Regions from separate parts of the Homo sapiens genome. Here region 2 is linked to region 1. The links are contacts of gene promoters, found by promoter capture Hi-C in human tissues and cell types (Jung and others, 2019). All regions are on one chromosome and are shown on one strand. Each heading gives the region's core, a stretch centred on a gene start or on the middle of the fragment in contact. The rest is flanking DNA. Distances are from core to core; before and after follow the strand shown.

What was found. The method cuts DNA at HindIII sites, captures the fragments that hold promoters and counts their contacts. A contact is called where the count stands out against the background at its distance.
Region 2: a contact is called between a fragment that was not itself captured here and the fragment with the promoter of PRICKLE1 in region 1, in 1 of the 25 tissues and cell types used here (mesenchymal stem cells).

Annotation. Positions count from the first base shown.
Region 1 is chr12:42,586,941-42,591,946 of GRCh38, reverse strand. PRICKLE1 (prickle planar cell polarity protein 1) reads left to right here and starts at 2,201. Exons shown (of 8, transcript NM_153026.3): 1 at 2,201-2,482. RefSeq lists an enhancer at 921-1,478 and a silencer at 1,948-2,197. The HindIII fragment of the contact is 9,160 bases long and covers 1-5,006 here.
Region 2 is chr12:40,957,493-40,962,498 of GRCh38, reverse strand. CNTN1 (contactin 1) reads right to left here. Exons shown (of 24, transcript NM_001843.4): 15 at 3,265-3,385. Among named protein-coding and RNA genes, the nearest start is that of PDZRN4, 230 kb to the left of the region's middle. The HindIII fragment of the contact is 4,788 bases long and covers 580-5,006 here.

The DNA.
Region 1 (5,006 bases), core at 952-3,451:
AATTTTATGAGTCCTGGTTGAAGGCCAAGTATTCACCTTTGCAATGGATCCAAAAGATGCTGCCCAGCACACAGTCCAAAGAGGCAGTAATCCTCCAGAGGGAATGACCATGTATCATCCACAGTGCTCAGGGTGTCTGCTCCACATAATAGATGCTCAACAAACAAAACCTTTGTGAAGTCACTGTACAGCAATAAGATTTATTTCACCTATGGAGGTAGTGAAATTTTCTTTGGCAGTTCTGGAGGTTAGATAGAACCTAAAAGTTGATAGCTTAATAGAAGCATTTGTAACCCCAGCAAGATAAACAGACACAACTTCAAAGGCCAATTCCAATAAAATGCTGAGGGGCAAGAAAACCTGGTTTGTTCTTTCCCAGATTCTCGTCACCTGAGGTCAGGAGTTCGAGACCAGCCTGGCCAACATGGGGAAACTGTCTCTACTAAAAATACAAAAATTACCTGGGCGCGGTGGCAGGTGCCTGTAATCCCAGCTACTCGGGAGGTTGAGGAAGGAGAATCGCTTCAACACGGGGGCGGGGCGGAGGTTGCAGTGAGCGGAGATCGCGCCACTGCACTCCAGCCTGTGTGACAAGAGCGAAACTCCGTCTCAAAAAAAAAAAAAAAAAAAAAAAAAAAAAAAAACAACGCTAGCAAGTGGAATTATTTCAAAAGCAACAGCCTTGTTTCCTGAGTGATCTGAGCTCAGGAACTCTGCCTGGGCATCTAGACAGGAGAAAGTATCTACAGCGTGGGGAGATCTGAGTCAGAATTATAGAGCACAGTGCTGAAGCCATACATTTTCCTGGATTTAGACAGTTTCCTCCTCCATTTGCCTTTATTTCCTTGCATTCTCTTTTCATCGGCTCCATTTTTGCTGAGTATTCCTTTGCTTTATTCCCAACGAAAATCGAAAAGACTTGATGTTCTGAGAAATTCTGAGACTGGCAGTTTTGATTTTTCTTAAAAGGATAAAAATTGCATCAGTCAACACCTCCCTCCACACTCCCCCCACACACATCCTCATCTTCCTGGAAGATGATACAGTATCCTAGAGCGTTGTGGAGAGGATGGAGAGGTCAAGGAAGCCCTGGCTTTGCAGAGGCACCTGTCAAGTTCGGGTTAACAGCTGCCGCCTGTGTCTGCCCTCTGCAGTCCAGGGAAATAGTACCCACACGGTGAGACTCCACCGATCCGGAACTGGAGAGGGTGGGGGGTTCTAAGGTTTAGTGTGACACAAATGTCAGGGCAGAACTTTCAAACAGGCTGAGCCCCAGTTCAACGTGGGTGAGTGCGCCTGAGAGCCCAGCTCTGGGAATTGAGCAGACTGAAAATGTGGAGAGTAGTTTGGCCAGTGAAAAATTGTCACCGTGTTCGGATCAATGCTTTGAACCCGCTTTTAAGTGCGCCACGTTCACTTGGGTCAGGCTCTGGACATTGCGGTGGGCTGAGGTTTTCGCGGGCACGATCCCCCACACTGAGTTTTCATGGAGACGACCAGGGCCGTCGAGGCGGGGAAGGGAACGGACTAGAGGCTGAACTTTGGCTTCTTGCTCTGAAAGATCACTCCTCCGGTTCCGGGGCAGAGACTCAGACCAGCCTGTGGGATTACACGAGACAGGATCGAGTCCAAACGGGTCCCCAGCTCGGCAAGGCGCGCCGGAAGGAATCTAAGTGTTTAATTAACTGCCCCCTTCACACACCCCCCGAAGGAGAAGGAACTCAAATAGGCACCCCTACCCAAATCGTTTGATCAGAGGAAATTGGGTTTGTCTCTCCCCCACCCCCCACCCCGTCCCTTCACTCTTCCTGTGTTTCAGTCCATCGGGATTGTTGGTTAAAAAAAAAAAAAAAAAAAGGCTTATAATCGGGGGCGGGGCAGAGGCTCCGAGCGAGCCGCACTTGCGACTCTGGACCGCGGTTGGTGAACTTTTTTCTCCCTGCGCATAATCCGCCTGCTGCTCTGCCCCACTGGCTGCGCGTGGAGCCGGTCCCAGGCCTGCTCGCAGCCCTGCCCCCGGGCGCGGCCCGAGCCGGGCCCGACCTCGCTTTCAGGGCCGAGCCGGGGTACGCGTGGGCGCGCGCCCAGCGGCCTCGATCCCGCGGCGGCGTCCGCGCTCCGCGTTTTCGCTCGCGCCGGGCCCCGCGGCCGAGGGCGGGGTGCGCGGCGGCGCCGCAGCGCGCGGCTCCGGAGCCCGAGCGCACTCCGCCTGCAGCCCAGCTGCCAGCGCCGTCTCCCGCGGCCGCCGCCGCCCGACAGCGCGCCCGGAACATGCCAGCCTCGCGCAGCCTGCGCTGACTTCCCCGAGACGCGCCGCGGTCGGCACGGAGACTTTCTGGGCTCTGGATGGTTCGTGCGCTGCTCACCCTCGCCCACCCCTGACGCCGCGGACCGCAGCTCCTCAGCCCCGCAGCCCCGCAGCCCAGCAGCCCCGCAGCGGCGCCGAGGACAGTGCAGCCGAGTTGCGTCTCCCTCGCGCGAGGTGAGTGGCAGCCTGGATCCCGGCGGATTCCGCAGAGGGGGCTGCGGCGCGGTGGTGGGGGGCGAGCGCCGCAGGGGTAGGGCCGGGCACCTTCGCTGGCACCGCCGGAGTCTGTGACACCCAGACTGGGTCGGTGTCGCAGAAGATCAGGGAGAAGGTCATAATCGGTTTGTTGGGCTGTGTAGACAGGGAAAGCAGATATTGGCTGCAGCATCGCCAGGGCTCCGCAGAGGCTCTCCGCATGGCTCCTGTTTGCTGCATCACAACCAACTCTTCCCTTGGTTTTCTCCGGCGTGGAAACAGGTTCTGTAGCCCGAGGGTCGAGGCGATGCGGGGCGCCGGGAGGCGAGGGTGCGTTGGCGTGTTCCCGCCGCTTAGGATCGCCTGTCACCTACTGGCGTCCGGAGGGAGGGTACCGATTCTCTCCTCTAGCGCTGGGGAAAGGGGCTGGTGGCTTTTTGGCAGAGGCGAATCAACTCCCACCACTCTCCCCAACCCCCTGCCCCGCGATGGTGTTTGCTGAATGTAGCACAGATATAGGGAAAAAATGGGAGCGTCTTCCTCTCTTGAGGTAGAAAAAGTTGAAGAAACTAGGCATGTTAATAGTTATTAGGAGCGGGACTCAGGATGCAGCAGAAAGCTGTTAAATTTTCATTACCCTCTAAGAAAAACAAACGGCATCGCCAGTGACTATTGGCAGTGCTGTGTTATTCTTGGGACTTTGGGAAAATTGTTCACAGATTGTCTTCAGGAGGCTGAAGAACGAGGTTGGGGGTTGGGAGAGAGGGAGGACGGCTGCATCACGCTTAGTTCCAGCTTGCCTAAGGAGGGTTCAGGATCACAAGCCGAACGCGTTTGGTTGCTGATTTTTAAAAGGGTATCAGCGGCAGAACTGAGACCATGAACAAGGCAAACACACCACGGGAACCAGCCTAAAGGAAAAAAAAAAAGCACCAACAACTACAACCAAAAAAACATGTAAAAATCTGCCTCTCCTGCAGAGTTAACATGCATTTGTGCTATCAAATGGATGCATGTATATGTGTCTTTTAGGATAAGTTTTATGAATGACAAATCACTGAAATGGTATCTTGTATCTGTTCATGCATACAGTGTTGTCTACTGCCTCGTCTTAATCAGTACTTTGGAAGGCTGTGCCTGCAGTTGATGTTATATAATTGATGTGGTTCACCATCAGACATTTTTTAATGTACTTTAGGAGTAGAGGGAACTTCCATCTGTCTTTTCAGACAGGCCCAAGGTGTAGACTGGTGAGGGTTGCTAATGTTTGCCGTAGTCCGGCTCCAGATGTGTGAGCTCAGCTGTTGCCTGTCACTTAGGTGACAACTGGCCCTTTCCCACTAAGCCTTTGCTGTCTCCATTATCCTCAGTGAAGTGTCAGTGTTCAGCCGCCTTCTATTATCAGGAGTGGACTCTAGCCCCTTGGGAGCCGGCAGCCTTGTTTGACCGTCCCCAACATTATGTCTGTTTTCAGACTCTAGAAAGGAAAAAAAAAACAAAAAAAAATCCCATGACAGCAAGATAGATACATTTTGAATTGAGCATCAACTTAATCCAAAGATTCTGCTTTAATCAAGACAGTTCTGTAAGGATGACGCAGTATTTGTCAAGGCTTTTCTCTGGAACAATATTTACTCCCACCAGGGGATTTTAAACTTAAACAGCAGCCATTCATCTTGCTGTCTGGTGGAGCCTGGTTCAGTTTGCCTCCAATGTGGTCCTAGCCTTGGTGGCTAGGCTTGGCCTGGGACAGGAATCTGTCATTGTAGCCCAGCTGGAGCCTGAAGAAAGCAAAATACAGCACCTGCTGGTACCAGAGGGTTTCTAAATGCCATCAACTGGCGAGTCAGGAAACACAGAAGGAGATATTTTACCAGCTCTTCCAGAAATGTTTATACAAAGGATTTAGAGGTTAACAATGCATGTGCTCTACATATTAAAACCGAAAGGTGCTACAAATAAATGGATGTTACCCACAGTTAAGGGTTTGCACACTTGCTGATGAACTTGAAAATCTCCAAGTTTAATAAGTCATGGCTAATGTAGTATGATTCATTCTTATAAATAAGCCTCAAAAGGAAGGAAGGAAGGAAAAGAGGGAGGGATGGAGAGAGGGAGGGAAAAAGGAAGGAAAAACTGGATAGTTTATAGAGATAGACATATTGATGCAACTGAATGGGCTTAGTAAATTAATTTTTCCATCTTTAATTTGGTACTAATTGGCGAGTTATCACCGAGTGAGCCTGTTGGTTCATAGGTTTTAAAAAGAAAAATGATATATTTTACTAAAGTGACAGATTCAATCAGTTCTGCCAGTAACACCAGTGAAGCTTAAAAAGCTTATTATGTTTTTATAATCAAGGTCCATGGAAGCACTATTTGTCCATGGTGTGTGGTGGTGTAATAAGTCAGCTTGAGTCCCCCAGATAAAATCTAATATTAGCTAGGGAGAAATAAAGATCTCCTATAGGGTTAATAGCTGAACTCTTAACTTTAGAGTCAG
Region 2 (5,006 bases), core at 1,724-4,223, 1.6 Mb after region 1:
ATCCAATGCTACATTTTCCATTGACTATATTTTTCCTACATTTAATTTTAGTTTTATATTTAGAGGCATTCAGATTTAACTACTTGACTGCTTACATTCTAAGCTCAATATACAATAAAAAGGCAAGGAATAAATTAAAACACACTTCTTTTCTGATAGAAATTGCTTTCATCATGCTGTATGCATATACTCACCCTTTTCCACCCACAATTACAAATGCGTGCACACATGCACACACACGCACACACACATGTTGATTAGGGCAGCAACACTGTTCTTACTATGTATTCATTTCCTTCAGTGTGATGTAGGCTAAAAGAAATCCACAATCTTAATTATGTCTAAATATTTATACTTTTGTTTCAGTCTTCTCTGATAAGGCATAATCATTTATACACAGAAATAATTTTGTTATAAAAAATTTTTTAGCGATCCTCAGATGAAATTGCTTTCCCCTCTACTGTGTTTACTGTCCTTCTCATTGCACCACTAATTTCAGCAGCTGCAGTTCAGATTACCAATATCTGAATATGGATTAAAATTAGTCCATCTCAAATATGGAAAGTTCTTATAGATTTCTACTGTCTACTACATAACATATTTAATATTTTTTACAAACATGTAATTTTGAAGGGTTGAGTGCAAATCGAATCTTTTAAAAGCAATTCACAATCTAAATGTGCTATTAGATTTAACTACATGAAATGTATTAGTATTTTATTCTTTTGCATAAAGTGAATAATCATCTCTTCAATTTATTTTATTAGAGAGTCTTGATCTAGATGGGGAAATAAAAAATAGATTAGCTTTTTAATGCCTTGTGGGACATTGCTGGCTACGAAAATCTTATGAAAATTACAAATCATTTTCCCAGGAAAATGTACATACACGTAGAATTTTATGTACAATTTCTGGTGGTCCATGGATCCCTTAAAGCCTGTTCATAGACTCCAGGTTATGATTTCCTGAACTAGATACAAAAGTATAATTAAATGAATAAATAGACCAATAATAATATCACTTAAGGCAGGGCATGTCTTATACATTGCTCACCATTATTATTAAAAAATAAAAACAACTGTTTAATTGTCTACCTTCTGGTTTAAATATATAAAGCATATTAGAACATCTATACATGTTTTTGACACAAGTTCTGCAATAGTCAAATATATTTGACTATTTTAATTGCAAATTTCTTTTGATATGAAATGGATACTTTTTCTATTATTAGAAATAAAGTTTGAAGAATGGTTATGACTCTGCTGACTTTAACAGAGGTAAGCAGTATTTTCATGTACCTGTATGGTTTTATTAGCATCCTACTATAGTGCAAGGACTTAAAATGCTGTATACGTTTTTATTTCTACATAATATTGGCTATAGCTTCTTTTTATTGATTCTCTATAAAAATACATATAGTGGTGATAATTAATTACCTAAGTATGTGTGGCTAGTATCATGACTACCCTTGCATTTCATCTGTAAAATTCCTCTTCACTCTGAATATTACAGAGTATTCTATGGTAATAGTACTATGAGTTTACTACAATGTAATCATATGAAGACATTTATGTCCACACACTGTAACATAACTCCTATTGCAATATTAATGCTAATTATTTTCATATGCAAGCAATTTCAATTAAATATACACTTTGGCTACTTCTGGAAATGACTTAACAGCTAGTGGTCTGACTAGGAAGAATGGTGAACTAATCCCTCTAATCCCTCTCCCTAATAATTCTTGAAAACAATCAATGTCCCAGATAACAAAATAAATGAAAATACTGAACCTAAATGAATTTTGTTTGACTTAGGATTTTGTAGTCTCATTTTTATTTGTTATTATTCAATAAGTGGTTTGTGGAATGTATTTCCAAGTTCATTCAGATGAAGAAACTTCAACTAGACTTCTTAAAACTCTATTGGAGAATATATTCAAATGGAGTAGAAGAGTTTTCAGCATTTGCCCAGTGTTGCTTAGGGACCCCATATTAACATTGCTCTAGAGGGAAATGCAGGAGCTGCATGAGATTGAGTAAAATTATATTGACCCAGATGTGGAAGGAGAATTAAAATAAACAAGCCACAAATATCATTTTATTGCCAATTTATCTGATAGTGTGAAAAGTAAAGGCAAAATGTACAATTAATGTTCAATAAATATTTTTAGTAGGTGAAATGTGAAAAAATAGTAATTTTAACTGACACTGAGACAGAAAGAGAGAGCTACGAAACAATGCAAAGGAACTCTGCCATTCACTAAAAAAAAAACATATATGAATTTTACAACTTAGGAGAGTAGATAACTGTGTACCAACTGCTATAAAACATATGAGAGAAAGCAATATATGTTATGAAAATTCAGAAGATCGGAGCTCATATTGGGGACATCAAGAGAAGGATTCATGAACTTAGTATATACTTTAAGACTTGAAGGATGAATAAGATTTGGTCAACAAATCATGAGAAAAAGACATGGAAGGAATACTGTGAATAAAGCAACTGACATGGAAGTTAAAGTGTATTTTTGTGGATTAGTTAGATGGTTGGAGTTGGTTACATGAAGTGAGATATTAAAGGTAAGCAAGCTGGGGTCAACACATGGTACTTCTTGGGTGCAAAACTAAAGGGCAGTCAGTGAAGAGCCAGCTCTTTATTTTAAACAAGGTGTGCTGTGTTCCCAGCCAGCCTCACTGCTATGGCAGCGGCCAGTAGCAAAGGGGTTGCATTTTTAATAAATGTATATTCCATCACAATCTCAATTATATTATTCATAAGAACGAAAACACTAATTTGAAAAAACCAGCAACAAATAAAAACATGATACATGTATAAATTAACTTTACACTCTAAGACAAAAGTGATAAATATATAACAGTTGAGGTTATAGTAAACAGCATCAGTATATATCTTTTCCATAGAAATAAAAAAGGAAACAGCACTATACACAACACACTAAAAAGTATTAGCAGGAAACGAGAACTTTTGGTAAGTCTACAAAGCACAAACATTTAGTAGGAGATATGTGGTGTAACTTTCTAGAAGATACGTAGTTAGTAAAACAAACAAAATCAGTGTTGTTTACTACTTGTCTGGCATAGATCATTCTTAGGCATGGGAAGAAGCTTAAGATCCATTCTTAAGCATGGGATTGAGACTCTAAATATGTAAGAATTTGCACCAGAGTTACCAGAAGATTATACATGTTTATGCAAGTCAAATACTTTTGGTTTTGTAATTTTAAAATGTTGAAACTCTTACCTCTCACTACAAGGTCAGCTGAAGCTGAAGAATTGTCCACAATTGTCTGGGCAGTGCATGTGTATCTTCCAGCATGTTTCAGCTGCGCATTTCGGATTAGTAATTCCCCATTGGAATCCAGCTGTTAGCAAAAACAGCAATTATTCAAATCAGTACATTTTTCACCAATTATGTGGCATTTAAGATCCAAGAGGTAGTTTTTTCCCCTAACAAAATGAACACCACTTAAAGAATGTGTTTTAGACATGCTAACTCTATGTCCTTGCTCTAGGCTTCAGTTTCTCAACTGAAAAATAAAGTGAATAATTTATTGATAAGGTATTTTTTAGCTTTCATATCTTTAACATTCTATTATTTCCACAATCAGAGGGTTATATCGAGAGAAACTCAAGGGATGAAACTATTTCATTGATATCTCTTAAAGAGAAATATTAAGGTCTAATAAGTATCAATAAGTTTTAAGTATCAATGAGTACAAACAAATACTATATGGTTTGGAAGAATGATTGATTTGGTTTCACAAAGCTGATCTAATTGACTAGTTTTAATATGTGCCACAGTTCATTTTACAAAGATACTAAAAGTTTGCAGAAATTGAGAAAATGTACAATTCCACTAACATGTACTCTGTTGCCAAATTATAAGTTCTGCGAGGACAAGAGTATTTGTTTTGTTCAATGCTCTATTCTATTGCCTCCAAGAGTGTTCAACACATATTTTTGAGTCTTGAGGAAATTTTGCTTGTGATGATGAGACACCATTTCAATGTAATTTCCAAAAATAGCTAATAGTTATTCAATGCCTACTCTATACCGGGTCCTGGTCTGTGCAAGTATATACATACATACATACATACACACACACACACACACACACACACACATATATACACACACACATATACACATACATACACACATACAGGCACACACACACATACACACACTTTTATTCAATTCTTTTTTGACAACTGCCCTATGAGATAGGTCTTATTATATCCATTTGATTAACAGTAAAAGTTAGACTTAAGGAATCCAAGTAATTTAACTAAGATAACTAAGGTCACTCAGCTTGTATGGTAGCAGGAGCATGTCAAAGTTCATGTTAATTATCTCCAAGATATTTTCTTAGAATGAAAACTTGGAAAACTCAATTTTTAAATGGACATTTGGTTTTCCTATGAACCAAAAATATTGATTTACTATTTCAGTGATAAATATCTAGATACCTATGATGTATCATGACTGTACATGGAGTGAACGTTTTGCTTCACCATAGGTTCTACCAATAACCTCTTCATATATCATGTTCCCTCCAGTTCTTGGAAAACATTTGGGTTTGCAACCCTTGCTGGATTAATGAGGTTAAGAATAATAGCTGAGAGAGCATATTGGTATAGTTAGTTGGAACAGAATATTAATATCTCCATATAAAGAACTGATCAGTGGCCACACACCTTAATCCTTGATATTAGCCAGTCTTAATTTAATGTCGATTGAGATCTTCCAGTCCCTTGAGGTATAGATTGGTCAAAAATTGAAACAGTTCCCAAGATTTCTACAAATTCCTGCAATAGGGGAGTTTTTTTCCTTCTGTCCTCTTGGTCTGTTATTTATTTATTTATTTATTTATTTATTTATTTTTGTCATACCAGGGAGCTCCAGACTAGAAATTCAGCACTTTCTCTATTTTATCAGAAAACCAAATAGCATGAAGTCTTACCTAGTAAAGTTAGTTTACTG